2 separate regions of the Homo sapiens genome follow, and region 2 is linked to region 1. Evidence: promoter capture Hi-C in human tissues and cell types (Jung and others, 2019). All regions are on one chromosome and are shown on one strand. The core of a region is centred on a gene start or on the middle of the fragment in contact, and the rest is flanking DNA. Distances in the headings are between cores, read along the strand shown. Region 1 holds the start of RFC1 (replication factor C subunit 1). Region 2 overlaps TLR6 (toll like receptor 6).

What was found. Contacts are between HindIII fragments. The study calls those that stand out against the background at their distance.
Region 2: a fragment that was not itself captured here is called in contact with the fragment with the promoter of RFC1 in region 1 in 1 of the 25 tissues and cell types used here (hippocampus).

What each region holds. Positions count from the first base shown.
Region 1 is chr4:39,364,851-39,368,009 of GRCh38, forward strand. RFC1 (replication factor C subunit 1) reads right to left here and starts at 1,512. Exons shown (of 25, transcript NM_002913.5): 1 at 1,389-1,512. The coding sequence starts at 1,391. RefSeq lists an enhancer at 1,434-1,553. The HindIII fragment of the contact is 2,064 bases long and covers 558-2,621 here.
Region 2 is chr4:38,851,255-38,854,646 of GRCh38, forward strand. The region is part of intron 1 of TLR6 (toll like receptor 6); the gene reads right to left. Among named protein-coding and RNA genes, the nearest start is that of TLR6, 3.9 kb to the right of the region's middle. The HindIII fragment of the contact is 5,296 bases long and covers 1-3,392 here.

The DNA of each region.
Region 1 (3,159 bases), core at 262-2,761:
AACTATTAAACTAGACTATACTAACATAGTAATATAACTATAAATTAATATATAAACCATTAAACTAAAATATTACCACGTTCTTCATCTTCAAGACTCCAAGTCTCAAGCTTCCAAAATACCACAGTGCTTTGGCCTCCAAAATGTAATGATGATCATTATAGGGAAGTAGTATAACATGGTGGTCAGAAACACCAAGATTCTAATTCTAGTTCAACCACCTACTAGTTATATGATACACTGTTTAAATTCCAAAAAGGTGCTTGCACCATCTGTAAAACTGCATCGATGTGGGTTGAAATGAAAAAAAAAAAAAAAAAAAAAAACCATGGAAAACCAACAGTTCACATATTGACCTAAAGAAGATGCTTGGTACAAGGTAGCTACTATCATTACTGTTGCCCTTTTTTGAGAAGAAACACAAAGGCCTGCAACGTTTCCCAGTGTGGCATAAAATTTTCACCGCCCCCCCCCAGAATGTTGTCACTGTGACACGTTGACCAATGATTGAAAAAAATTATATCGGATTGTTAAGTATCTTCTAGCTTAATGAACATTTTAAATGGTCCTTTAAAAATATTTCAAACACAGAGCCATATCCATTGCCATACCATCAGGAATGTCTGCTTTGCTGGCTGCATAATCATTTCACTTTCAATTTGTTTGAACATTTTATCCAGAATTATGCAGTGAGGCTTGGGTTTTTTTCAGATTTTAAACATCAGGTGGTAAGAGGATGACAGCTGTCAAATGTCTTGCATCTGTTTCTATTCGCTGTACTTCTTTTTCCTAGTAAGCCATGTTATCCTTTTGACTCCTATGAACTCATCTAAACAAAATAAAATATCCTCTCCATGCCCTCGGTCTCAACACCGCTCAGGTGATCGTTAATGACGAGCGGAGATGAGACGAGCTGAGCTGTTAATGATAAAAGTTTAAGGCCCTACACAACATATTCCCTAAGAAAGAAAAGTTTGTTACATTCTTCTCCCTCGTGACCCAAAGCTTGAAATCCACGCTTTAGGCAGTACTCAAACTGAGGTTCGGGCAACGCCGAACAAGAAAATAACTTTACCAATGCGTCCCAAAACCACCATCCTTCCTCTCTTCCTTTCTCCCTTCCCCCAAGAGTGGGGGGCGGGGGGAAAGTGCAAGTACACGTAGCAACAAAATCCCTGCGCGCTGGCTGCCGCCCAGAGCCAGAGCCCGCGATGCAATGAAAGTTTTGCGTCCAGTGCCCGGTGTGCGGCCCCTTCTCTGCCTTTGCTAGCCTCCGGAACCACCCACCGCCATCCTCCCCCACCCTGCATACCAGGAGTGCCCGGTCCACACCAGGCCTGCAAAGCCCCCCCAGACCCCGAGCCGCACGGCCTCCCCCAGCGGCTCACCATCGCAGCCCCAGGATGAAGGCGCTGGCTGGCTGGCGGGTGGGCCGGTTGAGGAATCTGTTATCGAGGCTCAGGATCCATTCGCGCCAACAACTTCTCCCGCGAAGTGCAAGAAGGCGAAGACAGTGGCGCGCGGTGATGACGTCAGGAGGCGCGAGCTTTGCTTCCGTCCCGCCCAGAGGCGGGAGGTGCGACGCCTGCCCAGGTGCTGCCCCGAGGGCAGGCGGGCCGCTGACATCGAGAGGAACCACGGTGCTTTGGTGTGAGCTCGGTTTTTGGCGGGGGCGCTAAAGTAGGGGGATCCGATATTGGTTTCCTTGGCAGGCGGGGTACCCAAGTACCTCCCGGTTACACGTCTGGACAATGCACTTCCCTATAGTAACTTTGAAAAGTTTTTACTACCAACTTTAGTAAGATAAATGTTTTAGCTGTGCGTTTTACATATTATGTATAAATATCTATTCTGTAATAAGGTTTCATCAAGAGGCCGGACGCGGTGGCTCACCCCTCTAATCCCAGCACTTTGGGAGGCCGAGGCGGGTGGGTCACCTGAGGTCAGGAGTTCGAGACCACCTGACCAATGTGGTGAAACCCCGTCTCTACTAAAAATACAAAAATTAGCCAGGGGGTGGTGACGTGTGCCTGTAGTCCCAGCTACTCGGGAGACTGAGACAGGAGAATTGCTTGAACCCAGGAGGCAGTGGTGCAGTGAGCCGAGATCGAGCTACTGCCCTTTAGCCTGGGCGACAGAGCGAAACTCCGCCTCAAAAAAAAGAAAAGATACCGAAAGCTTTGGGGTAAACCAGTTGTATATGAATAGATTAGCAATTGAATCACGGAATACAATGAAACATTTGCGTACGATTTCAAGAGAAAGATTAGACCATAAAGAGTTCAATGGAGAAAGCAGTATCTCCAGCTTTGGCTCTAGCTACACTTTTGAAATTCTCACCCATCCACCCCCTGTTGGGTCTTGCGCTTTATGACACCAACATTTCTATGGCGAAAGATAGAACAGCCTGGAATACAACAGAGGCTGAGCATTGACAGCTTGTATTTATTAAACGCCTATTGTTGTACGTGCAGCTCTGGACTAGCCTAGCTCATTTTATCCCCATGATGACACTGACTACTCTTATCCCGAATTTACAGACAGACTGTTACTTATTAACAGGGCCTCACTGCACTGTTCCCTCTGAAGCCAGGATGCTAGGTCTCCAGCCCCACCACCTGCTATTTATGTGACCAAGGGCAAGTTACTGTGCCTCGGTTTTGTCTTAGCAGACATATCACACAAATTTTTGCCCATAATTTTAGAGGACCTACACCAATTTATAATGTTCATTGTGTTATAAATCAATAAATGAGTAAATAAGACATAAAAAGTTGTACGTGTCTTTTATATTACATTCCTCTTAACTTTTGCTTTTTTTTTTTTTTGGCATTTGAAGCCTTCCTTGAGTTTAAATGAGACTTAAGTCAGGAGACTGTAACTTCTTTGTGAGATTGTTTTCTTTAGGAATATTTATTTACATGAAAATACTCTATCTCAGAAATATACCAGATCTAAAATGACTGCATATGCTTTGAAACTCCTCCCTTGAACCTGGACTGGCCTATGACTGATTTGATCAAAGAATACAATGGAAGTGATACTATGCCAACTCCAGACCTAAGCTTTAAGAAGACTGGCAGCTCCTGTCTTGCTCTCTTGGAGCACCATGTAAAGCCAGGGAGGTGGTCATCTGAGACCAGCCTTATAGCCATCTCC
Region 2 (3,392 bases), core at 245-2,744, 510 kb before region 1:
CAAACCCACAGCCAATAGCATACTGAATGGGCAAAAACTGGAAGCATTCCCTTTGAAAACTGGCACATGACAGAGATGCCCCCTCTCACCACTCCTATTCATATTCAACATAGTGTTGGAAGTTCTGGCCAGGGCAATCAGGCAAAAGAAAGAAATAAAGGGTATTCAATTAGGAAAAGAGGAAGTCAAATTGTCCCTCTTTGCAGATGACATGATAGTATATTTAGAAAACCCCATCGTCTCAGCCCAAAATCTCCTTAAGCTGATAAGCAACTTCAGCAAAGTCTCAGGATACAAAATCAATGTACAAAAATCACAAGCATTCTTATACATCAATAACAGACAAACAGAGAGCCAAATCATGAGTGGACTCCCATTCACAATTGCTTCAAAGAGAATAAAATACCTAGGAATCCAACTTACAAGGGATGTGAAGGACCTCTTCAAGGAGAACTACAAACCACTGCTCAATGAAATAAAAGAGGACACAAACAAACATTCCATGCTCATGGATAGGAAGAATCAATATCATGAAAATGGCCATACTGCCCAAAGTAATTTATAGATTCAATGCCATCCCCATCAAGCTACCAATGACTTTCTTCACAGAACTGGAAAAAACTACTTTAAAGTTCATATGGGGTCAAAAAAGAGCCCATATTGCCAAGTCAATCCTAAGCCAAAAGAACAAAGCTGGAGGCATCATGCTACCTAATTTCAAACTATACTACAAGGCTACAGTAACCAAAACAGCATGGTACTGGTACCAAAACAGAGATATAGATCAATGGAACAGAACAGAGCTCTCAGAAGTAATACCACACATCTACAACCATCTGATCTTTGACAAGCCTGACAAAAACAAGAAATAGGGAAAGGATTCCCTATTTAATAAATGGTGCTGGGAAAACTGGCTAGCCATATGGAGAAAGCTGAAACTGGATCCCTTCCTTACACCTTATACAAACATTAATTCAAGATGGATTAAAGACTTAAATGTTAGACTTAAAACCATAAAAACTCTAGAAGAAAACCTAGGCAATACCATTCAGGACATAGGCATGGGCAAGGACTTCAAGTCTAAAACACCAAAAGCAATGGCAACAAAAGACAAAATTGACAAATGGGATCTAATTAAACTAAAGAGCTTCTGCACAGCAAAAGAAACTACCATCAGAATGAATAGGCAACCTACAGAATGGGAGAAAATTTTTGCAATCTACTCATCCAACAAAGGGCTAATATCCAGAATCTACAATGAACTCAAACAAATTTACAAGAAAAAAATAAACAACCCCATCAAAAAGTGGGCGAAGGATATGAACAGACACTTCTCAAAAGAAGACATTTATGCAGCCAAAAGACACATGAAAAAATGCTCATCATCACTGGCCATCAGAGAAATGCAAATCAAAACCACAATGAGATACCGTCTCACACCAGTTAGAATGGCGATCATTAAAAAGTCAGGAAACAACAGGTGCTGGAGAGGACGTGGAGAAATAGGAACACTTTTACACTGTTGGTGGGACTGTAAACTAGTTCAACCATTGTGGAAGACAGTGTGGTGATTCCTCAGGGATCTAGAACTAGAAATACGATTTGACCCAGCTATCCCATTACTGGGTATATACCCAAAGGATTATAAATCATGCTGCTATAAAGATACATGCACACACATGTTTATTGTGGCACTATTCACAATAGCAAAGACTTGGAACCAACCCAAATGTCCATCAATGATAGACTGGATTAAGAAAATGTGGCACATATACACCATGGAATACTATGCAGCCATAAAAAAGGATGAGTTCATGTCCTTTGTAGGGACATGGATGAAGCTGGAAACCATCATTCTCGTAAACTATCGCAAGGACAAAAAACCAAACACCGCATGTTCTCACTCATAGGTGGGAAATGAACAATGAGAACTCTTGGACACAGGAAAGGGAACATAACACACTGGGGCCTGTCGTGGGGTGGGGGGAGGGGGGAGGGAAAGCATTAGGAGATATACGTAATGTAAATGACGAGTTAATGGGTGCAGCACACCAACATGGCACATGTATACATATATAACAAACCTGCATGTTGTGCACATGTACCCTAGAACTTAAAGTATAATAATAAAAAAAAAAGAATGCACACATTGTTCTTTCCGGAAGTTTTAACCACTGTAATAAAGAAAAAAAATGACAGGAAGAAATACTGAAATGAAGAAAGAAAATCATTATTATTTTTAGATTATAAGACTGTCAATGTGGAAAGCCAAAGAGAAGTCATTGAAAAAATGTTAGCACCAATAAAAGACTACAATAAAGTGGCCGTCACAAAATAAATTATTATCATTACTATTTTCTTAAACACTTTCTTTTTAAGAGACAGGGTTTTGTCCCACTGCCCAGGCTGGAGTGCAGTGGCACAATCATAGCTTAAGGTCCTGGGCTCATGCCATCCTCTCACCTCAGCCTCCCACGGAGCTGGGGTTACAGGTACAAGCCACTGCTCCTGGCAAAAATAAATTCTATTTTGAAAACAAATCCCTCAATTATCCAAAAATAGCAGGTTATCAAATAAATTTTAGTATCTCTGTATAATTAAATAGTACTATGTAGCCTTTAAAAATAATAAAAATCGAATTGCATGAAAATATTTTCACTATATGTGACAAAAAGCAGTTTATTTAAAAAGTACCAAAGTAAATATGTACCTATGCAAGTAGAAAAATTAATAAGATACATACCAAGATATGAACAGTAATTATCTTTGCACAGTAAGATTATAATGGAACTTTATTTTCCTCTTAGTTTTTATCTATATTTTTCAAACTTTTAACATTCAAAATTAAGTTTACTGTACTATTTACTGAATAATTTGCCAAAAATCAATTGCCAATAATATGAATAATGTGCAATCTCACAAAAAATAAAACAGCACGTTAAATCAAAAAAGCACATAACATCTAGATGAAACTCATGATCTTGGATTAGATCTCAGTTAAGACAGACTTGCTATAAAACATATTCAGTAACAGAAGGAGGGGCAGATTCTATGATGGACCAGCCATTAGATGCTATTAAGAAATAAATTGTAATTTTTTATAATGTTATTTGGCTATTTTAGGAAAATGTAATTTTTTTAGAGATAGAGAATAAAGCTTTTAGAAATAGGTTTCCAGAATGCCTGTTATTTTTACTATAAGATATTTAAGCATAAAAAGAGGAAGGGGGTCAAAGGAGGACTCTTGTTTCTTAAAAGATTTTTTAAAAGGCAAGATTTTTTTTTCACCTATCAAATAGGGAAAATTAAAAAATATAATATCCAGGTTGGTAGGTGGAAACTAAAATAAGAACCCTCATTTACTACTTAGGCAGGAATGAAAAATTAGTACA